Regions from separate parts of the Homo sapiens genome. Here regions 2, 3, 4, 5 and 6 are each linked to region 1. Evidence: promoter capture Hi-C in 16 types of primary human blood cells and fetal thymus (Javierre and others, 2016). All regions are on one chromosome and are shown on one strand. Each heading gives the region's core, a stretch centred on a gene start or on the middle of the fragment in contact. The rest is flanking DNA. Distances are from core to core; before and after follow the strand shown.

Region 1 (4,337 bases), core at 614-3,113:
TTTGGATGACCCACCTTCCATCAGAGCCAAAAGTCCGGTTGATGGACTGAGTAAGTATACTTGCCCAGGCCCCAACCTCTCCAGAGCAGACTCGAGTCCCTCAGGTAAAAGCTTTCTCGGCCAGGCGCGGTGGCTCACACCTGTAATCCCAGCACTTTGGGAGGCCGAGGTGGGTGGATCACCTGAGGTCAGGAGTTCGAGACCAGCCTGGTCAACACAGTGAAACCCCGTCTCTATTAAAAATACAAAAGTTTGCTGGATGTGGTGGCACGCACCTGTAATCCCAGCTACTCAGAAGGCTGAGGCAGGAGAATCACTTGAACCCAGGAGGTGGAGGTTGCAGCAAGCCGAGATCACACCATCGCACTCCAGCCCAGGTGACAGAGCAAGGCTCTGTCTCAAAAAAAAAAAAAAAGCTTTCTCTCACATCTGTCAAAAGTCCCCCATAAGCCACAGGTGAATGCCACACAGGTACAGAGCAACTGAACCAAAGCCTTACTCCCCCAAGTCATGAATCCCTCACCTCCTTGAGCCGGGCAATAGCATCTCCTATCTCTGGGTGCCCCATCTCATCCTCAGTCAGCACCCTAACGATCTGGGAGAAGTGCTGAACGAAATCCTGCTTTTCTTGGGCATAAACATCTGAATTCTGGTCTCCGTTCATTCTGAGGGAGGAGCAAAGGGCTCTAAGTAGAAGAAAAACAAGTCAGAAACCTGATCAGCTGCTCCCCTCCCCAAGGCCCCTCACCCCAACCACACTCACCGAGGTTCCTCTGTCCACGCTTGGCACCAGCAGCGGGCACTGTGCCAGGCCAGGACTGGGTACCCGTGCACCAGGGAGGGCCGCCGTAGGGAACCCAGCCACCTCTCCCGGGGTGCCCAGTAGGGGGCTGGCAGCAGGAAGACCCCCACAGATCTCAACCAGCGGGACAGGGGCATCCTGGGAGTGGCATAGGGAGGGGGCACTAAGCACTCCCTGCAGGGGCAAGCACCAAAGGCAGAGGCATGGTGGCAGCTCCCCAGATAACTCCCACCCCAGCCTTAGCCCAGAGTGCCCCTCCCTCTTGTGGAATGTGCTTGGGGACAATTACAGGAAGGATACGCAGGGAACAAAAAAGTATGGCTGGGTGACTGAGACCCAACTAATCACCACTTACAATAAACAGGCTAGAACTCAGTGCCTTCAAGATGGCGTGCACAAGGCTGGGTAAGGAGGCGGTACAGAGTAAAGTACCCCAGGATTAGGGGCTGAAAGGACCCTTAAGTCATCCTATTTTACACAAGCCAAACTGAGGCTCTAGGAGGTAGGAAGATAGTAGAGGCAGAGCCAAATCTAGAACCCAGGTCTCCCCTGGGCAGTGGAGAGGGGTGCCCAGGGTCTGAGTTACGCCCCAAGGAGGAAAGAAGCATTGGAGCGAGAACCCATGGGTGCTGCATCCATATGGTCCGGGGTGCTTGAACCGCGCGTCCCAAGCCCCACAGGAATCGCTAGGACTGAGCAGATAGGCTCGGAGCAACTCTGGACGGGAGAGAAGGGCTCGCAGCAAAGGAGTAAACCGGGGTCCGGGCATATTGGGGATTCCAGGAAAGCACAAGGGCAGAGTTGGGAAGTCTCCACACCCCTAGAAGGCCAGCCAGTCTAGCCCACCGACCTTCAAAACGGACACAACAGGCTGGCCTTCCGATGCCTCACAGTATCGTTACAGAAGTAAGGCCCGGTCTCGGCCCCCTTCCTCCAAGGCCCAGCACACATCCTCTCTCACCTGTTCCCAGATACGGATTCCTGCTCGGTCCCGCTTGTTGGCGGGTACTCCTAAAAGCAGAATCCGCTCCGCGATCGGCTCTGTGGGTCGAGTAGTTCCCGCTCTCCCCACACTAAGGGCGGAAATATATAATTAGACTACAACTCCCAATGTGCCCGCGGGAGGGACAGATAACGCGATCCTGCGTGTCCTGGCTGGGCGAAGATGAGCCGCGCTGATTGGCTGCTGGCCGTCGTGTGAGCATGGCGCACTGTGGCACTGTGACGGACGACCAATGGAAGGGCTGAAGTCTAGAGGTCGCGGCTGGAGGCGTCAGTGCCGGAAGCGAGCCAGGCTGGGAACGTCCCCGCTGTGGCTTTGGCTGCCTGTCTTACTCAAGTTTTCATTATCTTCCTGGGCAGCTGATTGGCACGTTAGTAAAACGCAGCAGGACTAGCTTTCTCACTTATTAGTTCTCTAACTTTAGGCAAATCATTTAACGTCTCTGATCCTCAGTGAACTTGCTTGAAACTAGCTTTCCTCATCTGTTGAATGAGGGTGGTAATACCATGAGGTAATGTGTGCAAAGTGCTTTAAGGGCTTAAGAAAGATGAGTCTTGGGCCGGGCACGGTGGCTCACGCCTGTAATCCCAGCACTTTGGGAGGCCGAGGCGGGTGGATCATGAGGTCAGGAGTTCGAGACCAGCCTGACCAATGTGGTGAAACCCCGTCTCTACTAAAAATACAAAAAAAAAAAATTAGTCGGGCGTGGTGGCGCGCGCCTGTAATCCCAGCCACTCAGGAGGGCTGAGGCGGGAGAATCGCTTGAACTCGTAAGGCAGAGGTTGCAGTGAGCTGAGATCCAGCGAACCACTGCACTCTAGCTGGGGAGACAGAGCAAGACTCCGTCTCAAAAAAAAAAAAAAAAAAAGATGAGTCTCACACTTGTAATTCCAGCACTTTGGGCGGATCACCTGCGGTCAGGAATCTGAGACCAGCCTGGTCAACATGGCAAAACCCCTTCTCTACTAAAAATACAAAAATTACCCAGGTGTGCTGGTCCGCGCCTTAATTCCAGCTACGTGGGAGGCTGCAACCTCGCTTCCCGGGTTCAAGTGATTCTCCTGGATTACAGGTGCCTGCCAGCATGCCCAGCTAATTTTTGTGTTTTTAGTAGAGAGGGGGTTTCTCCAGATTGGCCAGCCTGGTCTCGAACTCCTGACCTCAAGTGATCCAGCCACCTCGACCTCTGAAAGTGCTGGGATTACAAGTACGAGCCACTTGGCCCAGGCAGTTATTTATTGATTATAAGCTAAACAAGGGTTGGATTATTCATGCCTCTGCTTTGTAGACCATATACAGTTAACTCCCTGATGTCGACACAGCATGTGGTAGGAGTATAGCGTTGAAGACCACCAGAGGTCACTCTTGTTGCCATCTTGGTTTTGGTAGGTTTTGGCCAGTTTCTTTACTGCAATCTGTTTTATCAGCAAGGTCTTTATGACCTGTATCTTGAGCCAATCTCCTATCTCATCCTGTGACTTAGAATGCCTAAACCAACTGGAAATGCAGTCCAGTAGGTCTCAGCCTTATTCTACCCAGTCCCTATTCAAGATGGAGTTGCTCTGGTTCACGCACCTCTGACAATTATGCTAAGTGAAATAAGCCAGACTCAAAAGGACAGATACTGTATGATTCCGTGTATATAAGGTACTGTCACCGGTGGAGGGTGTCCAGGTTCTTGGCATCTTGAACAAAGAATTGGACAAAACACGGCTGGGTGCAGTGGCTCACGCCTGTAATCCCAGAGCTTTGGGAGGCCAAGGTGGGCGGATCACGAGGTCAGGAGTTCAAGACCAGCCTGGCCAACATAGTGAAACCCCATCTCTACTAAAAAATCCAAAATTAGCCCAGCATGGTGGCGCACACCTGTAGTGCCAGCTACTCGAGAAGCTGAGGCAGGAGAATCGCTTGAACCCGGGAGGCAGAGGTTGTGGTGAACCGAGATCGCTCCGGGAGGAATGAAACAGGAGGAATGAACAACTCCAGATGCGCGGCCTTAACAGCTGTAACACTCACCGCGAAGGTCTGCAGCTTCACTCATGAGCCAGCAAGACCACGAACCCACCAGAAGGAAAAAACTCCGAACACATCTGAACATCAGAAGGAACAAACTCCGGACACACCACCTTTAAGAACTGTAACACTCACTGCGAGGGTCCGCGGCTTCATTCTTGAAGTCAGTGAGACCAAGAACCCACCAATTCCGGATACATAAATCTGCATGTGTGAGTGTGGATATTGTGTGAGTGTTAGAGTGGAGTACGTATTTGTGTGTGTGTGTGGAATGGTGGGGAGCTTTGTGTATGTTTACGTGTGTGTATGTGTCTGACCAGGGGGCACCTCGTCTGTTAAGCTGCCCTGACCTCCTTCTGCCCTCACTCACAATGCTCTGTCTCTCCTGGTGTCCCTCTGTGTGCTGAGCACAGTTCTGTCAGTGCCCCCCGACTTCCTTTATTAAACCTGACTGGCCTCGCTCCTGTCTCCATCCCCACACTGAGCAGAGACCTGGGCCCAGTGGCCTCACCTCCTCCA
Region 2 (4,337 bases), core at 641-3,140, 410 kb before region 1:
ATTGTGGGCAAGTAGTTTAATTTCTTTAGTACTCTCCATACCAGAGTTTGTTAAGTTATGGCTGGGCACCTGTTTTGTAAATAGAGTTTTACTGGAACATGTTCACACCCATTTGTTTATGGCAGAGTTGAGTACTTGTGACAGATCATCTCAGTCCATCGGCCTGAAATATTCACTACATGGTCCTTTAAGAAAAAGCCTGTCACCCAACACATAATATAAGCAATAATAATTGGTAAACTTGCCCAGTAAGAAATTAAACTTAGTAAGTATTGAGTATTCGACAACTCTATGCTCAGCAAAATCCGTGGAACTAGGTGAATTCACTAGTAGAGATTACATGGGAACTGATACAGACCGAGCTGGCCAGTGTATGTTACCACAGTATCAGACAGGGACAGGGAGAATCTGGGTTCCAGAGTGCTATCTCAGGTGCACTATCTGAGTAAATGCAAATCTACTAAGCTTCTTTCAGTTTCAGTTTTCCTATGCAAAATGAGGACAGGAACACAAATCATAAGCCCTGAGAAACCCCATATACATATTAGTAACTCACCGGGTCATTCTCATTGGTGCGGGAAATAGCTCTCGGACTCTCAACTGGAACCTGGTTATCTAGGTGAGCAGCAATGCTTTGGCGAGCCTGGGTCCCCATGTGTAAAAAACGCCCAGGGTCCAACTATAAGAGAAACCATTTCAGTGTTACGGGGTTATCAAACTTTTTTTTTTTTTTTTTGAGATGGAGTTTCTCTCTTGTTGCCCAAGCTGGAGTGCAATGGCGTGATCTCAGGCTCACTACAACCTCCGCCTTCCAGGTTCAAGTGATTCTCCTGCCTCAGCTTCCTGAGTAACTGGGATTACAGGCGTGCGCCACCACACCCGGCTGATTTTTTATATTTTTAGTAGAAACAAGATTTCACCATATGGGCCAGGCTGGTCTTGAACTCCTGAACTCAGGTGATCTGCCCGCCTCTGCCTCCCAAAATGCTGGGATTACAGGCTTGAGCCACCACACCTGGCTAATCAAACTTTTTATGCTTGCCAAAACACTGAGAAGGTGAGCCATGTCTGCAATAGGGATGTCACTAACATACATTTTTCTTTTTTTTTTTGAGATGGAGTCTCACTCTGTCGCCCAGGCTGGAGTGCAGTGGCGCGATCTCGGCTCACTGCAAGCTCCGCCTCCTGGGTTTACGCCATTCTCCTGCCTCAGCCTCCCGAGTAGCTGGGACTACAGGCACCCGCCACCACGCCTGGCTAATTTTTTGTATTTTTAGTAGAGGTGTATTTTTAGTAGGGGTTTCACTGTGTTAGCCAGGATGGTCTCGATCTCATGACCTCATGATCCGCCCGCCTCTGCCTCCCAAAGTGCTGGGATTACAGGCGTGAGCCACCGCGCCCGGCAACATTTTTCTTCTATGTAAAAAGGATCCCTGTTATTATTTAAAATTCACTAAGTCCAATGACATTATTCATATTCTGTATCTGTTCCAGTCTGTGTATTGCCTTATCAGGGGTCTGTCCTATACGGAAACAAACAATTCTGTCAGAGATTATTCAGGAGCATACATAGCATAGCCATTAGCAAACTTGAAGCAGGAAAGCTCTTTTAATGCGCTTGCACAGCGATGAATGGTTGTCAAAACTGTGTAATTCTCATTCTCTGTCAGTCACCTCAGTTATCAGGGGATCAGTGCAATGCTCCTCACTATGTGACAGCTATAATTACATGCCCTGTAACAATTTTCCTGCTAATTGTGCCCTGGAATAAAGGATCTTTCATTAGAGACATGTAATAAGGGAGTATGTCAAATACACAGCTAAGTGAAAGCAAACTGCTCTATAGGTAACTCAGTGAACTGTACACCGAAACCTCTGAACCAACAGGGAGGGGAAGGGGGCGGATTTCGGTAGACAAATCTAACAAAATGGTAAGTGAAAAACCCCAAAACTGAGCTTAAGGATAACAAACCTTATGTAGAAAGTGAAAAGATGTGTTATGAGGAAAAGATTAGGGAATGCAGCCAGGAGAAGCAAGAGAACAGAAATATAATGGATAGTGTAATAAGGGAGTTGCTTAATAAATAGGTTATCATATGAAAGCTACCAGTATTTTATAGTCTCACCAAGCAGCTTCTCTCTCTCTCTCTCTCTCTTTTTTTTAAGACAGGGTCTTGCTCTGTCACCCAGGCTGGAGTGCAGTGGCACGATCACGGCACACTGTAGTCTCAAACTCCCAGGCCCAAGCCATGCTCCCATCTCAGGCTCCCAAGTAGCTGGGACTACAGGTGCATGCCACTATGCCCAGCTAATTTTTTTAATTTTTTGTAGACAGGGTCTTGCTATGTTGCCCAGGCTGCTCTCCAACTTGCTGCACTCACGCGATCCTCCTGCCTCAGCCTCCCAAAGTGCTGGGATGATAGGTGTGAGCCACTGTACCTGGCTCACCAAGCAGCTTTTTGTGGGTTTTTTTTTTTTTTTTGAGATGGAGTCTTGCTCTGTTGCCCAGGCTGGGGTGCAGTGGCACAATCTTGGCTCTCTGCAACCTCCGCCTCCTGGGTTCAAGTGATTCTCCTGACACAGCCTCCTGAGCAGCTGGGATTATAGGAGTGTGCCACCATGCCCAGCTAATTTTTCTATTTTTAGTAGAGACAGGATTTTGCCATGTTGGCCAGGCTGGTCTCAAACTCCTGACCTCAGGTGGTCCTCCCACCCCAGGCTCCCAAAGTGCTGGGATTACAGGCGTGAGCCACCGTGCCCAGCCTACCAAGCAGCTTTTTGAGTGCAGAAAATATATGTTATCTCTGTACCATCCCTCCTCACACTTACACCCATTTTATGACATGATCCTAAATTATGTGTCTAACATTCCCACTACACAGGTTGAGAGACAGTATTGTACCCATCACTTTTGTTTTTCTTTTTTTTTGAGACGGAGTCTCACTCTTGTCGCCCAGGCTGGGATGCAATGGCATGATCTCAGCTCACTACAACCTCTGCCCCCAGGTTCAAGTGGTTCTCCTGCCTCAGTAGCTGGGATTACAGGCGCCCGCCATCACGCCTGACTAATTTTTGTATTTTTAGTGGAGACTGGGTTTCACCATGTTGGTCATGCTGGTCTGGAACTCCTGACCTCAGGTGATCTGCCCGCCTTAGCCTCCCAAAGTGCTGGGATTATGGGTGTGAGCCACTATGCCCAGCCAACACATAACATTTTAACTTGTATCTTTATCTCTAAATCTTTGATTTTTTCATCGTTCATAGTCCTTAACCTTCCCGAAAATAGGTTTAACCTTCGACTAATCTAAAAGCTTGGATGGAGCCAGGTGTGGTGGTCCACTCCTGTAGTCCCAGCTAGTTGGGAACTAAAGTGGAAGGACTGCTTGAGGGCAGGAGTTCCACATCAGCCAGGGAAGCACAGTGAGACCCCGACAATAAAAAAATTTTAAAAAGCTTAGAAGGTTCCAGAACGATGTCAAAATAAGTCTCAAATTCCTTAGCATAACAATCTAGACCACTGTGATGACTTCAGCCTACCTTTGTAATTTCATTTATAACCATATGACCATGCTGAAACATGTCACTTTTATGCCTCTATACTTCTGCTCATTCTACTTCAACTTCCCTCTCTCCCCATTTAAATCTTTCCCATTCATCAAGCCTCAACTCGAATGTCACATCCTCAGTGAAAATTTGCCAGACACCTCCAGTCAAAAGTAATTCTCTTTCCTTTCTGCTAATAGCACTCTTTGTATTGCACAGCAATTTTATTACACTGCCTTGAGTTGTACTCATGCCTACTGTTAACTGAGTATCTATTAGATGTTAGGCAATACAGTATTGTACATGTACTAGTTTTAAACCTAGAAATCCTAGAAGATAGGCAGAATATTATCAACCCTGTGTTATGATGGGGAAGATAAGGTTCAGGGAAGCTGAGTAATTTTGATTAAGGTCACAGAGTTTTAGGTGGTGAACTAGAATTGACATCCAAGTTTGTCTCTATTTTAAAAAAACTGTATCATGTTATCTTACACATGCTTGTCTCCTAGGCTACACGCTCGGAAGAAAAGGGGTCAGATTTTATTCATTTTCATATCTCCCTCTCTGAGTACTTAACACACTACAGGTATTTAGTTTGCCCTGGAATAAAGAATCTGAAACTGAAAACATGCAATGAGAGAGTACGTAAAGCATCCACGAAGGAAAGTAAATGCTCTATAGGAAACTTAGTGAAGTATACACAGAAACTTCTGAACCATTACTTGTAGATTTTAATATAAAGTAACTGTCAAGTACTAGAGTTGCTCCAGCTTTGTCTGAGAATGTATGACTGT
Region 3 (4,337 bases), core at 782-3,281, 380 kb before region 1:
CTGCACTACTGCCTTCCAGCCTTGGCGACATAGATCCTATCTCAAAGCAAACAAACAAAAAAAAGTGTAAATTTACAGAAGAGTTGCAAAGGTAGTACAAAGTGCTTTCTTACAATTTTCATTAGAGTTTCCTTAATGTTACATACATATGACCATGGTACAATTTTCAAAATTAAGAAATTAAAGCTGGTACAATACTATTTAAAAATTGCAGACTTTATTTGCATTTCCTCAGCTTTTCTGCTAATGTCTTCTTTCTTTTTTTGAGACAGGGTCTCGCTCTGTCACCTAGGCTGCAGTGTGATGGCGTGATCTCGGCTAACTTTGCAACCTCTTCCTCAATCCTCCTGCTTCAGCCTCCCAAGTAGCTCAGACTACAAGCGTGTGCCACACCTGTCTAATTTTTGTGTCTTTTTGTAGAGATGGGGTTTCACCGTGTTGCCTAAGCTGGTCTCGAACTCCTAGGCTCAAGCAATGCGCCCTCCTCCGCCTCCCAAAGTGCTGAGATTACAGGTGTGAGCCACTGCGCCCAGCCTAATGTCTTCTTTCTGTTACAGGATCCAGTAGAAGATTCCACATCTGGAGATCTTTTCCTTTCTTTATATCTATCACCGACATTACCTACTCTTTAAAAATTTTGTAAAAGGCATAAATTTGAAAAATATATCCTCATTAATCTAAATCAAGTCATTGATACAACTATTTAACAAGACGCCCGGCCTGCTTTGTTTTATTAACGACTTGGAGGGACAGAACACTACCCATTACACCCACAAACGTTATCGACATCAACAGAACTGTAAATGACAACACGGCAATACTCTGCACCTTCCCTATGCCTAGGAGCTAATTCCACTTTACATATATTATTATTTCGTGTGTGTGTGTGTGTGTGTGACGGAGTCTCGCTTTGTCGCCAGGCTGGAGTGCAGTGGCGCGATCTCGGCTCACTGCAACTTCCGCCGCCCGGGTTCAAGCAATTCTCCTGCCTCAGCCTCCCGAGTAGCTGGGGCTACAGGCGCCCGCCACCACGGCCGGCTAATATTTGTATTTTTAGTAGAGACGGGGTTTCACCATGTTGGCCAGGATTGTCTCGATCTCTTCACCTTGTCATCCACCTGCCTCGGCCTCCCAAAGTGCTGGGATTACAGGCGTGAGCCACCGCGCCCAGCCCTATCTTATTATTTCACACACCAACCCTGGAGGCATGTTTGGAGTTGCCTAATTTTTATGTACACTTTTTGATAAGGAACTAACAAAAATAACTTGCTGAAGACAAGGGAAACTGAGTCCAGAACTGAATGAGAAGCACATGGTTTCTTCATCCTCCATCACCAGGCTGTCTAACGAGGCTGAAGTACCATCCATGAGTAAGTGCGTCAAGGGCAAACAAACATCATCGCATATGGACAGTGGTGTGAAATTCGAGAAATCCGAGGAGGGTTAACAACAACAAAAAGCACACCACCACGCCGAACTTCCTCGGGTCCCAGGTTGGCAACTCAACGCCCGGGAGGAATCCCCCCCGGAGGCGCGCCGGTCTACCGGCCTCACTCCCTACCTCCTGGAGGTCCGGAGTCCCGCTCCTTTCCCTCAGCGGTACAATACCCGTGTCGGTCCATTCCCTCACCGTGAGTCGAGGACTAGTTCTCCAGACTAGGCGACCGACACACGCTGCCTGGGGCCGGCTCCAAAGCGCCCGTCCTGAGACTGCAAAAAAGGGTCGGGTCATCCGGCAGGAAACGACTCAACGCGCAGCCGCCGCGGCCTCCAACCACCGGCCGGCAGAGGGGCGCTAGGCCGCCCTCGATCCCCTCGCCGCGGTCCCATGGAGGAGGAGGCGAGCCGCAGCGCCGCGGCGACGAACCCAGGGAGGTAGGTTGTCATGGGACTCGGCCGGCCACCCTGGCAATTCCAGTCAAACGGCAAGCCAGACTCGCTTTGCCGGTCCCTTCCTCTCCTGCCCCTGCAGCCGCCAGGAATGGAACAGTCCCGCGGTGGGGACTGTGGGAGGCGCACGCGCGAGGAGTGTAGGGTGGGGGTGCTGGCGGCGGCTGCTTTGGCGGCGGTTGGTGGCCGTGCGGGCGGGGAGGGAGGGGGAGGAGAGAAGAGGAGGTGGAGAAGGCTTGGGCTCGCGCCGCTGAAGGTACGCGTGAGGGCCTGCGCTGGAGCCGGCTTGACAGGGTCTGAGGGGGAGTGGAGAACTGGGCGAGGAGGTTCCCGTGGGTGAGCGCGTACGGGATGGCTGGCTCGCAGGACGGCCGAAGGTGGTGGTTGGTGGGAGCAGCCAGCGACGAGCCCGTAGACACTCGTACGCGTGCGGGCTGACGTGCGCGCTACATGGCCGGAGTCGGGCGAAGCGGGGGACCGTGGGGAAGAACGCGAGGAGGGAGGAGTGGGAGGTTGGGGGTGTCGCTAGGCGCCCTTAGCTCCCTCCCTCTGGAGGAGCTGCCGCGGCCACTCTGCTGCCGCCGCTGCCGCCGCCATTTTGGGTTCGCTTTGCGAGGGGAAACGATCCCAGTGTCGGTTGCGGGATCCGCCTCCTCTCAGTTTGCCCCTTTAGCCCTCCACCTTTCCCTTCTCCTCTCTCGCATTTCCGCCAGTCGGCTTACCCGCTGGCCGCCTCCTGACAAGCGGGAGGGATCCGCGGTGGACCCAGGGAAGCGGAGGAGCCTGGCGGCCACCCCCTCTTCCTCACTTCCCTGTACTCTCATCGCTCTCGGCCTCCGACACGGTGAGTAGAACGATTTGGGCCGGCATTCGGGCCTAAGCACTCTCTCAGCGATTGAATCCTGGGCTTTCTGGGAGCCACTGTCATCTCCCGGACCTGGACCTCTGGGAGAGCAGTGGTGAAGATGGGGGAGGGGAGAGCAGGGAGGGGGATCCTGAGCCTACCGGGAAGTCCCTCCAGGCGGGGTGAAGGGGTGTCCCTGACAGGCAGACTCCCGGAGGGGGCTGGGAAGTAAGCGAGTGGAGGCGGAGTCGGCTGTGCCCCTGACAGGTTAGTTTGTGTTTGTAGGCATGATCGGAGCCTCCCCCATAGTCCAGTTTGTGTGTGTTTAATTAAGGGATAAGAGTGGTCGAGGACACGATCTTGAGAGGGGATTTTACCTGTGTGACAAGGTCTGTGGTGTCCCTGCCGCGTTGAACGGTATGTGGGAACGACAGGATGATCTCAGTGTTGTACGTTTAATAAATGTCACTGGTTAGTTTGTACATGGAAAGAGATGTTTTTGGTCTAGCAGACAGATGGTCTGTTGGTGTGTAGCGGCTGTGTTGGTGTGTGTATGTGAGGATGGCAAGTGTTTCCGTAAGAGTTTGCCTTTATTTGTGTAAGTGTAATGGAGTTCCCCTTATAAGTTAGCTTATTTCTTGAATAAATGTTGGGAGGTTCCTTGCAGGTTGATATGTGTGTGTATTTTAGGGATTGGGAGCCCCTAGTTACTTGTTGGGAAAGAGCGGCAATGGTAGTGTTCTGTACAGCATGTGTCTGTGAGGTCAGGGAGGGGAGAAACTTGGCATAGCCAGTTGTGGTCTTAAGAATAGTTTGTGCCTTTGGTTAGAGTGAGTTGTGTAAATGTGAAGGGCCAAAATATCTTTAACAGAATCATTGCTACAAAGCTGTAAAGAATGGGTGGCCTTATTTGTTGTCGCGGGTTTATAGTAATAGTTTACAATACAATAAGAAAGCTCTTTCAGTTTCTTTGTGATACTGAATCTCTGTGAAAATGGTAGGATGCTTTCTTCCATTTTACAAAATAGGAAATTTAGGCATAAGGAGAGAACTTCTCCAAGGCCGCATGTTAAATTGGTGACAAAGTTGGAACTGTAACTCCCATATTTTCACTACTACTGCAGCAGTATATTCAGCATACCATGGTGCCTCAGGAAGTCTTTGTCGGCAAATCTGAGTATGCTGGAAAGATAGGAGCACATAAGACTGGTTGGCTTGTATTTGGGGGAGACCGATTGTGTCAGATATGTATGTGGAACGTAGCTGTCCTTGCCGAGTCTGACCTGTATGAAATGCATATCCATGGCTATATTATTTTGGATTTATGGAGGAAGCAGAGCATTTCTGACACTTAAGGTTGTATGCGTGAGGGAGAAGGCTTTCACAGCTTAACTTGTACCAGAGCAGCTGCATGGGTGCTGACAGCTTAACTTGAAATCTGTGGGAGGAAGGATCCTTTTTCACTCATTCAACAAATATAACCATTCAATGAATGGTCCATGCCTTGAGGTGAGGATCATCAAGGTGTCTCTGTAAATAGCCTGGATGCAATCTGAGGGGAGTTGTTTTGACGGTGGTAGGTATTAAGTTGAGGGAGGCAGTG
Region 4 (4,337 bases), core at 1,138-3,637, 350 kb before region 1:
TTTTTTCTTTTTTTGAGACAGAGTCTCACTGTTGCTCACTGCAGCCTCTGCCTCCTGGGTTCAAGCGATTCTCCTGCCTCAGCCTCCTGAGTAGCTGGGATTAGCCACCACACCCAGCTAATTTTTGTATTTTTAGTAGAGATGGGGTTTTGCCATGTTGGCCAGGTGATCTCGAACCCCTGACCTCAAGTGATCTGCCCACCTTGGCCTCCCATAGTGCTGGGATTACAGGCATGAGCCACCACATCCTCCATGTCTGGCCAGTTTCCTGGTAGTAATATTGTACTGTGTACCTTGTTTATATGTATAGCTCTTGTTTCTATGTAACATAAAAACATTATATTGGGAGAAACTGGTTGAAGGGTACATGGGACCTCTTGGTACTATTTTTTGCAATTTCCTATGAATATAATTATTTCAAAATAAAAGGAAAAAATAATACTCTCCTCTGTCACTGTATCTAGAATTCTAGATAGGAAATAATTTTTTTAAGAAGCTTTTAAGGGCCTCACTTCATTTTCTTCTAACTCCTAGTGTGGTGTTAAGAAATTTCATGCCATTTAACTTTTTTTTTTTTTTTCCGAGACAGGGTCCCACCCTGTTGCCCAGTTTGGAGCGTGGCTAAATCATGGCTCACTGGTGTCTCCAACCCGGTGTGCACCACTATGCCCAGCTAATTTTTTTTTTTTTTTTTTTTAAGACATGGTCTCGTTATGTTGGCCAGGCTGGTCTCAAACTCCTGGCCTCAAGTGCTCGTCCTGTCTTGGCCTCCCAAAGTAATGGGATTATAGGCATGAGCCATGGCCCCATTTAACTCTTGAGTCTTTGTGTAACACCTGTTTTTCTCAACCTCTGACAGCATGCAGGATTTTTCCTTTGGCTTCAATATTTTGAAAATGCATGATAATATGCCTTAGTATTTGTCTATTTTTATCCATGGTTTTTTAAAAAGTACTTTCTTTTTGTTTTTGTTTGTTTGTTTGTTTTGAGACAGAGTCTCGCTCCATTGCCCAGGCTGGAGTGCAATGGCGTGATCTTGGCTCACTGGAACCTCTGCCTCCCAGGTTCAAGCAATTGTCCTGTTTCAGCGTCCCGAGGAGCTGGGACTACAGGCGCTCACCACCACACCCTGCTAATTTTTGTATTTTTAGTAGAGACGGGGTTTCACCTTGTTGGTCAGGCTGGTCTCAAACTCCTGACCTCGTGACCCACCCACCTCAGCCTCCCAGAGTGCTGGGATTACAGGTGTGGGCCACCATGCCTGGCGTATCCATGGTTTTAAGGCACACGTGATAAACCTTATTCTTCTGCAGAAATAATTTTTTTTTTTTTTTTTGAGATGGAGTCTCACTCTGTTGCCAGGCTGGAGTGCAGTGGCGTGATGTCGGCCCACTGCACTCTCCACCTCCTGGGTTCAAGTGATTCTCGTGCCTCAGCCTCCCGAGTAGCTGAGATTACAGGCACGCGCCACCACACTTAGCTAATTTTTGTATTTTTAGTAGAGATGGGGTTTCACCATGTTGGCCAGGATGGTCTTGATCTCCTGACCTTGTGATCTGCCTGCCTCGGCCTCCCAAAGTGCTGGGATTACAGGCATAAGCCACCACGCCTGGCCAGAAGTAATTTGTGTTTAAGTTTTAGTTTTGTGTCATTTTTCGTGCACACCTTTGTACTTTTGTTGGGGGATGGGGCGGGGTGTCGGGGTTGGAGTCTTGCTCTGTTGCCCAGGCTGGAGTGCAGTGGTGCAGTCTTGGCTCACTGCAACCTCTTAATTCCTCAGTTCAAGTGATTCTCCTGCCTCAGCCTGCCAAGTAGCTAGGATCACAGGCGTGCACCACCACACCCAGCTAATTTTTTTTTGTACTTTATTAGAGACAGGGTTTCGCCATGTTGGCCAGGCTGGTCATGAACTCCTGACCTCCAGTGATCCATCCTCCTCGTTCTCCCAAAGTGCTGGCATTACAGGCATGAGCCACCATGCCCAGCCCTTTGTACATTTTTTAATGTAGGATGCCATTTGTCCACTTGACTCTCCCACTAGTCTGTAAGCTCCATGAGAGCAGGAATTGCTTCCCTTATGTGTGTGCTTAGCTTTTAGCACAGTGCCTAGGATATAGAAAACATCTTATGTTCATCATGTTGGATGAACAGATGCTTATTGTCATGGTTTAAGTTCAGTTCTTATCTTCTTTTTTTTTTTTTGAGATGGAGTCTCACCCTGTTACCAACGCTGGAGTGCAGTGGCATGATCTTGGCTCACTGCAATCTCCACCCTACCACCCCCACTGCCAGGTTCAAGCGATTCTTTTGCCCCAGCCTCCCAAGTAACTGGGATTACAGGCACCCACCACCACACCCAGCTAATTTTTGTATTTTTAGTAGAGATGGAGTTTCACCATGTTGGCCAGGCTGGTCTCAAACTCTCAATCTCAAGTGATCTGCCCGCCTCAGCCTCACAAAGTGCTGGGTTTACAGATGTGAGCCACCAAGGCCAGCCTATTTACTCTTAAAACTGAACTGCCTCGGTCTTTTTTTTTTTCCTTCCCTTCTGATGCCCTTCACACCATCATTTGCTTAAAGTCTTTGATGTGTCCATTTTATAGATTACGATGCTGTCTTTGCAGCTGTTGAGCAGGAACAAATCTTACATAAGATTGCTCTTAGCATCTGCTTCCTTTTCTCTCTGTGACCTAAACTCTCCCCTTCCTGGCAACCAGAATGGAGATCATCAGTTAGAAAATATTGAATAGGGCTGGGCGCGGTGGCTGACGCCTGTAATCCTAGCACTTTGGGAGGCCGAGGCGGGTGGATCACGAGGTCAGGAGATCGAGACCATCCTGGCTAACACAGTGAAACCCTGTCTCTACTAAAAATACAAAAAAATCAGCCGGGTGTGGTGGCGGGCACCTGTAGTCCCAGCTACTCCGGAGGCTGAGGCAGGAGAATGGCGTGAACCTGGGAGGTGGAGCTTGCAGTGAGCGGAGATCGCGCCATTGCACTCCATCCTGGGCGACAGAGCAAGACTCCGTCTCAAAAAGAAAATACTGAATAACTATAAAATCTTTAAATAGAGATTAGTTTAATTTGAAATGTACAAGTATTCAGCATATGCTATTCGTATATGTGTGTTCATGGATGTTTGTGTATGTGGTCTTGTGTGTGTGTGTGTGTGTGTGTGTGTGTGTGTGTTTCTCTTGATCCACCACCACCCCATTCACCAGCCTGACAGAAGACAGTGTTTCCAGAAGGAATGTAATTCATGCGCATTTTTTTCATGTTAAGTTTTATAAGAAGACCAAACAGCTGCCAGTCCTAGGAAAATGCTGTGAAGAGATCCAGCCACATCAGTGGAAGCCACCTATAGAGAGAGAAGAACACCGGCTCCCATTCTGGTTAAAGGTACAGCCCTCTTCCTCGAAGTCTGTAGGAGGCAGAAGGTCACTGAAAGTTCTGAGAGAATATCAAGGACTTCCTTAATCGTCTAATGCTTTAGTTGTAGAACTAGGACTTCAGGAATCTTCCTGATTCACCTTTCTTCCCTTACTTTTCTGCCCTTCTCCGGGTGATTCTACAACATTTTCAAAATAATGGGTAAAATGGTAATTTGCTAAAGGAAATTCAGAGAAGAGTTTCTAAAGTGTATAATTGGACTGTGGTCTTTGTAGAAATTTCATATGCAGAGTCCCTTGGAAAGATGCCTTGAGCTTGTCTCAGGTCCCTAAACTTAGAAAGTCCTATTCTTTTTCCCAAATTCTGACATGTGCTGGATCAGAGTGTTCTCATTTCCAATAGGCCAGTCTGCCATCCATCCAGGAAGAACTGCGGCACATGGCTGATGGTGCTAGAGAGGTAGGAAATATGACTGGAACCACTGAGATCAACTCAGATCAAGGCCTAGAAAAAGACAACTCAGAGTTGGGGAGTGAAACTCGGTACCCACTGCTATTGCCTAAGGGTGTAGTCCTGAAACTGAAGCCAGTTGCCGACCGTTTCCCCAAGAAGGCTTGGAGACAGAAGCGTTCATCAGTCCTGAAACCCCTCCTTATCCAACCCAGCCCCTCTCTCCAGCCCAGCTTCAACCCTGGGAAAACACCAGCCCAATCAACTCATTCAGAAGCCCCTCCGAGCAAAATGGTGCTCCGGATTCCTCACCCAATACAGCCAGCCACTGTTTTACAGACAGTTCCAGGTGTCCCTCCACTGGGGGTCAGTGGAGGTGAGAGTTTTGAGTCTCCTGCAGCACTGCCTGCTATGCCCCCTGAGGCCAGGACAAGCTTCCCTCTGTCTGAGTCCCAGACTTTGCTCTCTTCTGCCCCTGTGCCCAAGGTAATGATGCC
Region 5 (4,337 bases), core at 1,097-3,596, 330 kb before region 1:
CCTCCCCTTTTGAAGTCCTTAATAAAAACCTGCTGGTTTTTGCGCTCAGGTGGACATCGCTGTCCTACAGAAATGTTATGTCACCCCCAGAGGCCCAGCTGTAAAATTCCTCTGTTTGTACTCTTTCTCTTTATTTCTCAGCTGGCTGACACTTATGGAAAATAGAAAGAACCTACGTTGAAATATTGGCGGTGGGTTCCCCCGATAACAAACCATCTGAAGTCTGCACTCTCCTCAAGTGCATTCTGAAACACTGGAACTCCTTTGATTGTGAGACTCTGAAGAAAAAACAGCTTATATTCTATTGCACAAGGGCAAGGCCCTCTTACAGACAGGAGGTCTAACCTCCTCAGGGAAGCATTAATTTCAATACTATCCAACAACTAGATCTTATTTTTCCCAGTGAGACAACCCCCATCTTTGTAAGTGTTGTAAAATTAACCCTTCCCTCTTGGCAGTCATATCAGGCAAGTCTACAGAATATAATTCCCCAAAGTCAGAGAGGCAAACCCTTGAGGAACCCTCTAATGCAACTTCTCAGTGCCCTAACTGCCTCCTGTATCCAGGGCCCCCAATAGCCATATCATCAGCCCCTCCAGCTATGCTACCCAAAAAGCTGCCAACTTCGCTGTTGCCTTTGCAGGAAATGCTGAATGGACATGGTGCTACTAGGTTTCAAGTTCCCTTCTCATTGCAGGACCTTAGACAAATAAAGGGATAGCTAGGCAAGTTCTCTGATGACCTTCATAGATATATAGAGGCTTTCTAAAATCTAATCCAAGTGTTTGATCTTACATGGGGAGATGCTATGCTACTTTTATGCCAAACCCTAACTGTTGCAGAGAAACAAGAAGCCCTACAGACAGCAGGGATATTCAGAGATGAACAGCATGTCTCCTATAACCAGTCAAAAGAAAAACCCAGTCAAAAGGGGAAACATGGTAAAAAAGAGACAGAATCCCCTTTCCCAACAGGAAGAGAAACTATGCCCCTTAAAAACCCTAATTGGGGCTGGGCGTGGTGGCTCACACCTGTAATTTCAGCACTTTGGGAGGCCGAGGCGGGTGGATCGCCTGAAGTTGAGAGTTTGAGACCAGCCTGACCAACATGGAGAGACCCCGTCTCTACTAAAAATACAAAATTAGCTGGGCATGGTGGCGCATGCCTGTAATCCCAGCTACTCGGGAGGCTGAGGCAGGAGAATCACTTGAACCCAGAAGATGGAGGTTGCGGTGAGCCGAGATTGGGCCATTGCACTCCAGCCTGGGTAACAAGAGCAAAACTCCGAAAAAGAAAAAAACCTCTAATTGGAGTCCTGGTGATCCCATAGACAAGTGGAAAAGAAAACACTTTCTGATGTGCATATTAAAAGGCTTGCAAAGAATCAGAACCAAAACTCTTAATTACTGTAAACTGTCCTTGTTGAATCAGAAACCAAATGAAAATCTCTCAGCCTTTTTGGAAAGGCTGAAAAAAGCTTTAGTGAAACACACCTCCCTGTCTCTCAATTCAATAAAGAACAGGTTCATTACTCAGGCAGCACCTGATAGCAGACGCAAGTTGCTGAAACAGGCCCTGTCCAAAGATCATTCTAGTTTTTGTCACCCTCAAGTTGAAACTTTGTAGTATGTAAAGACACTCTCCTCTGTGCCCCAACCAAGGAGGTCTCAGGAAGGTACTAAGGCTCTCTTCAATTTCATAGCTGAAAGGGAATATAGGGTCTCAAAATCTAAAGCTCAGCTTTGTCAAACTTCAGTAAAGTATCTGGGTCTGGTCTTATCAGAAGGGAACAGAGCACCAGGTAAGGAAAGGATTAAGCCCATTTCCTTTAACAGTTAAGGGTATTCTTAGGCATTACTGGATTTTGCAGACTGTGAGTGCCTGGGTATGGTGAAATAGCTTGCCCTTTATACCACCTCACAAAAGAAACTCAAGCAGCTAAAACTCACTCCCTAACTTGGGAACCTAAAACTCAAAAGCCTTTAACCAGTTAAAGCAAGCTTTATTTAATACACCATCCATCCCTCAGTCTTCCCATAGGGAGGGCATTTAGTTTCTATGTATCACAAAGGAAGGGAATGGCCCTGGGAGTTTTTTTGTTTTTGTTTTTTTGTGTGTGTGTCTTTTTTTTTTTTTTTTTTTTTTTTTTGAGACATAGTCTCGCTCTGTCGTCCAGGCTGGAGTGCAGTGGCACGATCTCGGCTCAATGCAAGCTCCACCTCCTGGGTTCACGCCATTCTCCTGCCTCAGCCTCCCGAGTAGCCAGGACAACAGGCACCCGCCACCATGCCCAGCTAATTTTTTGTATTTTTAGTAGAGACGGGGTTTCACTGTGTTAGCCAGGATGGTCTCGATCTCCTGACCTTGTGATCCACCCGCTTTGGCCTTCCAAAGTGCTGGGATTACAGGAGTGAGCCACCATGCCTGGCTGGCCCTGGGAGTTTTAACTAAGGCTAAAGGTCCAACTCAACAGCCAGTAGGTTACCTAAGCAAGGAACTTCGCCTCGTGGCTAAAGGATGGCCAGCCTGCCTCCAAGCAGTTGCAGCAGTGGCTTTGCTGGTGGCAGAAACCACTGGGTTAAACATGGGGAATAACTTAACTGTTTGCACCCCACACAGTATAGCAGGACTGCTGTCCTCTAAGGGAAGTCTCTGGCTAACAGAAAAATCGCCTCATCAAAAATCAAGCTTTGCTGCTAGAGGAATCTGCAGTCCAGTTGAAAACCTGCCCTTGCCTAAACCCAGCCACTTTCTCCCAGAGGAAATTGGGGAACCTGAACATGATTGTGAACAGGTAGTGGTACAAACCAGTAAAAGAAATGATAAGGATCACTGTTTATATTCTCTGTAAAGTTTTGATTAATGAAAAACAATTTTCATGAAGAGCACTTGGCTTAATTGAAACTGAGTATCCAACCTATAGGTATATTCAAGAGGCCTTTATGTTTTTCCCTCCATAAATCTTGTTTTTCTGGAAAAGGCTTTTTTTCTCTGGCAACTGAATTACTTTTTCCCACTCTGTCTTGCCATTCTTGGTGCATGGATGAAAGGCCCTAGGATGACTTCTGGTGGCCTGGGACTCCTTGGGAAAACAGACAAGATGCCAGAAATCCCATTTAGGAAAAAAATCTGTTTTCCACATGGAATCCCTGGAATCCCTTTTAAAATCTGTTTTTGTCTTCCAACTGTGCATGTTTATTAGGCTCCAAAAACTACATGCTTTTCTGGCCCTATTCCTAAATAGCTCCATCCTGAGCTGCTGGATCTTCTTCTATCTATATAGTCCTATATGGGTTATGTGTGTGATGTCTGTTAAAAAAGACCTCTAATTAATTGACTTGAAGGGTAAGTGCTTGGATTAAATATTTTTTAAAGGGATAATGAAGGTTGTGGTACCTTTCAGTTCATGTGACTTTAATTTTTGAAAAATAAAAACAGCCTTAAAAATTATTGGTAAAGTGTAGATGTCTTCAAGATGTAAATATATGGTCTAAATTATGCAGGTCAGATACTAGGTTTGCTGAATGTTTTAAGGTTGTAAACTTCTTCTTTGGCCTTTAAACTTGCCTGCTTCACAATTGGTAAGACCTGGGGACATATGGAAGTAACCATTCCCCTAACTATGCTGGAAGGAGTCAGACTTTATCTGCACCTAGCACATAATTAAAACAACTTTACCAGGTTTTACATTGAAGTTGAAAATTGCTAAGAGTTACTGTTATAACATGTAATTTAGACTACTGAAAATAGATTTACATGCAAGGTGTGCAAGAACAGTAAAGTATCTTTTTAGTCAAAGATTATAAGAAGGCATGGAAATGCACATTTTGCCTAGGGATACAGGATTGTCTTAAATTAGATAAAATAAAACAAAAAGTTTAAGCAAATGTGGAAAGACTGTAAAAATTAATCTTCCAAAAGGAAACTGTGAACATATTGACTAAATTCAAAAGGGTTTTTCTGAAAATGGAGCACTGAAATAAAAGCACATGGCCAGGCATGGTGGCTCACGCCTGTAATCCCAGCACTTTGGGAGGTCAAGGAGGGTGGATCACCTGAGGTTGGGAGTTCAAGAGCAGCCTGACCAACATGGAGAAACCCCATCTCTACTAAAAATACAAAAAATTAGCTGGGCGTCATTGCACATGCCTGTAATCCCAGCTACTTGGGAGGCTGAGGCAGGAGAATCGCTTTAACCCTGGAGGCAGAGGTTGTGGTCAGCCTAGATCACGCCATTGCACTCCAGCCTGGGCAGCAAGAGTGAAACTCCATCTCAAAAAAAAAAAAAAAAGAAAAAAAGAAAAGCACAACAAGGTTTTCTTAAGATGCTACTCCTC
Region 6 (4,337 bases), core at 679-3,178, 300 kb before region 1:
CCTATGGAGACCCTCGGGTTGTGGCACCGGGTTAAAAAGTTCAGGACAGAGGCCCTCACCTCTGCACTCAGAAAGTCTTGGAGATAAGGGTTCTTGGGATAGAGTTCCTCTTTGTGTGTGGTGAGCTTCCCCTGCCTGAAAGAGTTTGGAGATTGATCAAAGAAACTGCACTCTGATCAGAGTTATCCAGCGTTCTGCGTACATACACGATCCCCACCCTTATCCATACATCAGTTACACACCATGCTATTGCAGCATCCAACTGTTTGTCCCTGTAGAGTCCACCTTCCTCTTTTAGGGAGCTCAAACTACCTGTACAGAAATAACAGAGACAATGTTAGGTCAAAGCCTGGGCACCCTTCCCCTCTAGCTAACCTTCCTCTGATCACCTGACAACCTGCTGTCACCATCTCTCCAGCACTTGGCTCTTCCAAGCTTTCTGGGATATACACTAGTTGGGGGAAAAACCTTGGCTTAGGAGAATCTAGATTCCATCTTTCGGTTCCCAGCTTAGTCATTAGCTGTGGGACGCGGGGGGAACCACATCCAGGGGTCTGACAGGAGTGCTGCAGTTCAAGTCCTCACTGTCTCCAGGGCCTAGCAGCCTATTCCCGAAATGGCTCTTGAGCAACTGTCGTGGGCCCCTCGAGTGTTGGCATGTTGTGCTCAGCTCCTCATCTCCGGTCCTGGAGCTCGGTAAGGTGGGAGGGTCTTGAAGATAACGGCAGCGCAAGGACTAGGCACGCGGAAGGGAAATAAGGGGCATCGGCTAACTCTGCCACCACCTCACCCTTCAGATCCATGAGGATGAGTCGCGGCGTGTAGGTCTCCTGGCCGTGCAGCGTCCGGCCCGTACGATACAGGACGTCGGGGCACAGCTCTCCCGGGGGCTCCTTGGAATCGGTCGCTCGGCCCAGCGCAGCATCCTGGGGAAGCAGAGAGGACGAGGCAGGCCGGCTGAACGTCGGGACTGTAGATCCCGAAGGGCTCCTCGGGGGCAGCTGCCGGCTGACCTCACCTGCTGGTTCCACCAGTGCGCGCCCACGAAACCGGCAAAATGTCCCAACTGCAGTGTGAGCACCTCCCGGGCCCCGCCCGCCATACTGCGCTGCTCCACGGGGCCGCCGCGCCTCAGCCGCGCCGCTCGCTGCTCCTAGCCGATTGGCTTGGCAGGCGCGTGGGCGGGTGTTATTCTCGGCTACTTATTGGCCCGCAAACACATCCTTTCCCATTGGAGAAACGATGCGCCGATCCCTTCCTACCTCTTCCTAGACGTGGCCCAGTCCGGCTTCTCTGTGGTTGCCTGTGAGGGGCGGGGCTCCACGGGCCACGCCGTTGCTCCTGCTCCACGTTGGAGCGGGGTGGGCGCCGTCTCCGCCGCTGACTTGGGGCCGCCAGGGCGCGGGCCGTGGAAGGCTCTGCTTCCTACTTGTCTTGAGGTCTTATCCCTTCTCACAGATCTCTCCGCTGGCTGATAGCTCCCCGGGCAAAAAGAAAACCTTGCCAGAAAAGCGGAAGCTCCCCTAAAGCCTCCCATGCCCCTTCATCTCTTCAGAAGTCACGTGGACCACGACTAATAACCTGTGGACTGGCTTAGCTATCATATCTCTATCATTTACACGTATTTATCTATCTCTGTGTATCTAACACCTTATGTAAAGAGAGTATGTATCTGTTGGCGTCTTTTGCTCAATATGGTTTATGTAATTCATATTTTTGCAAATATCTATAATTCATTTTCATCACTGCGGAATAGTCCATTGTATGAATACGCCACCACTGATCTATTCTAAAGAAAGAATAGGCTGGGCGCGGTGGTTCACGCCTGTAATCCCAGCACTTTGGGAGGCTGAGGCGGGCAGATCACGAGGTCAAGAGATCGAGACCATCCTGGCTAACACGGTGAAACCCCATCTCTACTAAAAATACAAAAAAAAATTAGCTGGGCGTGGTGGCGGGCGCCTGTAGTCCCAGCTACTCGGGAGGCTGAGGCAGGCGAATGGCGTGAACCCGGGAGGCGGAGCTTGCAGTGAGCCGAGATCACGCCAATGCACTCCATCCTGGGCGACAGAGCGAGACTCTGTCTCAAAAAAAAAAAAAAAAAAAATATATATATATATATATATATATATACTGCTGATAATAGCTTTTGGGATTGTTTCCAATTTTTGGGCTATTAGGTGCTATGATTAACATTCTTGTGTGTATTTAGAAACAAGGCAAGGGCCGGGTGCGGTAGTTTACGCCTGTAATCCCAACACTTTGGGAGGCCGAGGCAGGAGGATCAACTGAGGTCAGGAGGTTGAGACCAGCCTGGCTAACATGATGAAACCCCGGTCTCTACTAAAAATACAAAACATGTAGCCGGGCGTGGTGGCGGGCCCTTGTACTCCCAGCTGCTCAGGAGGCTGAGTCAGGGAATCATTTGAACCTGGGAGGTGGAAGTTGCAGTGAGCCGATATCACGCCACTGCACTCCAGCCTGGGAAACAAGAGCAAAACTCCTCTCTAAAAAATAAAAAATAAAAAAATAAAAATAAAAATAAAAAAGGCCGGGCGCCGCGGTTCAAGCCTGTAATCCCAGCACTTTGGGAGGCCGAGGCGGGTGGATCACGAGGTCAGGAGATCGAGACCATCCTGGCTAACACGGTGAAACCCCGTCTCTACTAAAAATACTAACAATTAGCCGGGCGTGGTGACGGGCGCGACCTGTAGTCCCAGCTACTTGGGAGGCGGAGGCAGGACAATGGCGTGAACCCGGGAGGCGGAGCTTGCGGTGAGCCGAGATCGCGCCACTGCACTCCACCTTGGGCAACAGAGCCAGACTCCATCTCAAAAAAAAAAAAAAAAAAAAAGAGATAAGGCAAATATTGGTTGGGCGCAGAGGCTCACGCCTGTATTCCCACGTTTTGGTGAGGCTGAGGCAGGAAGATCGCTTGAGTCCAGAAATTCGAGAATGTGAGGGTAGACTGGACAATGTAGTGAGACTCCCCCTCCCCCTATCCTCTCTATAAAAGAATTTTTCAAAAAATTAGCTAGGCAGCCCACATCTGTAGTCCTAACCAGAGGCTAGGGTGAGAGGATCGCTTCAGCGCAGGAATTAGAGGCTGCGGTGAACCATGATTGGAGCACTGCACTGCAGCCAGAGACAGAGGGAGACCCTGTCTCAAAATTTTAAAAAGTGACAAAATGTTAATTGAATCTAGGTGAAGATTATAGGTGTTCTTTTGCAGTACTCTCTGAGCATTCTTGTAGGTTTGAAATTTTTTCAAGAAATAAAGGTTAGATGCTCTTATCTCTTCTGAGCTCTTTGTATTTTCACATGTATTATATTTAGTTTTGTTTATTTATTTTGAGACTGTCTCACTCTCTTTGCCCTGGCTGGAGTGCAGTGGTGCAATCTCCCGGCTCACTGAAGCTTCAACCTCTTGGGCTGAAGCGATCCTCCCACCTCAGCCTCCCAAGTAGCTGCAATTACAGGCATAGGCCACTGCACCCGGCTAATTTTTGTATTTTTTGTACAGAAGGGGTTTCACCATCTTGCCCAGGCTGGTCTCCTGAGCTCAAGCGATCTGCCCACTTCGGCCTCCCAAAATATTGGGATTACAGGCGTGAGCCAATATGCCCGGCTACTATTTCACTTTTCTAAGTATGATGTGGGCTGAAAAGTTTCTATAGATACTCTGACAGTTTAAGGAAGTTCTCTGTCCTGATTTGCTAAGAGTTTTGATCATGAATAGATTTGAATGTTTTTTACAGCTTTCTCCAAACCAAGATAATTACATTATTTTATCCTTCCTTTGTTGTGCTAATGAATAAATTACATCGTTAGATTATCATGTAATACTATCTTGCATTCCTCAAATAAACCTAAACTCGGCTAGGCGCGGTGGCTCAGACCTGTAATACTAGCACTTTGGGAGGCCGAGGCAGGCGGATCACAAGGTCAGGAGTTCGAGACCATCCTGGCCAACATAGTGAAAACCCTGTCTCTACTAAAAATACAAAAATTATCTGGGCGTGGTGGCACGTGCCTGTAATCCCAGCTACTTGAGAGGCTGAGGCAGGAGAATCTCTTGAACCAGGGAGTCGGAGGTTGCAGTGAGCCAAGATCGCGCCATAGCACTCCAGCCTGGTGACAGAGAAAGACTCCAACTCAAACAAACAAACAAAAAACCTAAATTCATTTATGTTGATTATCCTTTTAAAATATTGGATCTGGCTGGGTGTGGTGGCTCACACCTGTAATCCCAGCACTTTGGGAGGCCAAGGCGGGCGGATCACGAGGTCAGAAGTTCGAGACCAGCCTGGCAAACATGGTGAAACCCCATCTCTACT

The links. Contacts are between HindIII fragments. The CHiCAGO score rates a contact against its expected background, and 5 or more counts as called.
Region 2: a fragment that was not itself captured here is called in contact with the fragment with the promoter of FDPS in region 1 in 1 of 17 cell types (endothelial precursors); the score reaches 5.0 in endothelial precursors.
Region 3: a contact is called between the fragment with the promoter of YY1AP1 here and the fragment with the promoter of FDPS in region 1, in 1 of 17 cell types (endothelial precursors). The highest score is 5.1, in endothelial precursors.
Region 4: a fragment that was not itself captured here is called in contact with the fragment with the promoter of FDPS in region 1 in 1 of 17 cell types (endothelial precursors); the score reaches 5.2 in endothelial precursors.
Region 5: a contact is called between a fragment that was not itself captured here and the fragment with the promoter of FDPS in region 1, in 1 of 17 cell types (endothelial precursors). The highest score is 7.0, in endothelial precursors.
Region 6: a contact is called between a fragment that was not itself captured here and the fragment with the promoter of FDPS in region 1, in 1 of 17 cell types (endothelial precursors). The highest score is 5.4, in endothelial precursors.

What each region holds. Positions count from the first base shown.
Region 1 is chr1:155,306,392-155,310,728 of GRCh38, reverse strand. FDPS (farnesyl diphosphate synthase) reads right to left here and starts at 1,863. Exons shown (of 11, transcript NM_002004.4): 1 at 1,764-1,863; 2 at 764-940; 3 at 524-686. The coding sequence starts at 939. It also overlaps a transcript of PKLR not described here. RefSeq lists enhancers at 1,504-1,673, 2,004-2,133, 3,036-3,105, 4,230-4,337. The HindIII fragment of the contact is 5,584 bases long and covers 419-4,337 here.
Region 2 is chr1:155,713,348-155,717,684 of GRCh38, reverse strand. It overlaps DAP3 (death associated protein 3), which reads right to left. Exons shown (of 13, transcript NM_004632.4): 3 at 557-679. Among named protein-coding and RNA genes, the nearest start is that of DAP3, 26 kb to the right of the region's middle. The HindIII fragment of the contact is 2,846 bases long and covers 468-3,313 here.
Region 3 is chr1:155,686,468-155,690,804 of GRCh38, reverse strand. YY1AP1 (YY1 associated protein 1) reads left to right here and starts at 2,031. Exons shown (of 11, transcript NM_139119.3): 1 at 2,031-2,146; 2 at 2,604-2,734. It overlaps DAP3 (death associated protein 3), which reads right to left and starts at 1,714. Exons shown (of 13, transcript NM_004632.4): 1 at 1,631-1,714. It also overlaps the pseudogene LOC124904430. RefSeq lists enhancers at 1,566-1,615, 1,991-2,625 and a silencer at 2,106-2,155. The HindIII fragment of the contact is 12,603 bases long and covers 1-4,337 here.
Region 4 is chr1:155,660,369-155,664,705 of GRCh38, reverse strand. It overlaps YY1AP1 (YY1 associated protein 1), which reads left to right. Exons shown (of 11, transcript NM_139119.3): 10 at 3,283-3,399; 11 at 3,793-4,337. Among named protein-coding and RNA genes, the nearest start is that of YY1AP1, 26 kb to the left of the region's middle. The HindIII fragment of the contact is 3,778 bases long and covers 499-4,276 here.
Region 5 is chr1:155,638,052-155,642,388 of GRCh38, reverse strand. It overlaps the pseudogene LOC100419798. Among named protein-coding and RNA genes, the nearest start is that of MSTO1, 30 kb to the right of the region's middle. The HindIII fragment of the contact is 688 bases long and covers 2,003-2,690 here.
Region 6 is chr1:155,607,014-155,611,350 of GRCh38, reverse strand. It overlaps MSTO1 (misato mitochondrial distribution and morphology regulator 1), which reads right to left and starts at 1,133. Exons shown (of 14, transcript NM_018116.4): 1 at 1,019-1,133; 2 at 791-926; 3 at 243-312; 4 at 60-135. The coding sequence starts at 1,102. It overlaps LOC105371452 (a long non-coding RNA gene), which reads left to right. Exons shown (of 2, transcript XR_922171.2): 2 at 1,459-1,742. RefSeq lists enhancers at 397-1,271, 1,272-2,146. The HindIII fragment of the contact is 2,982 bases long and covers 438-3,419 here.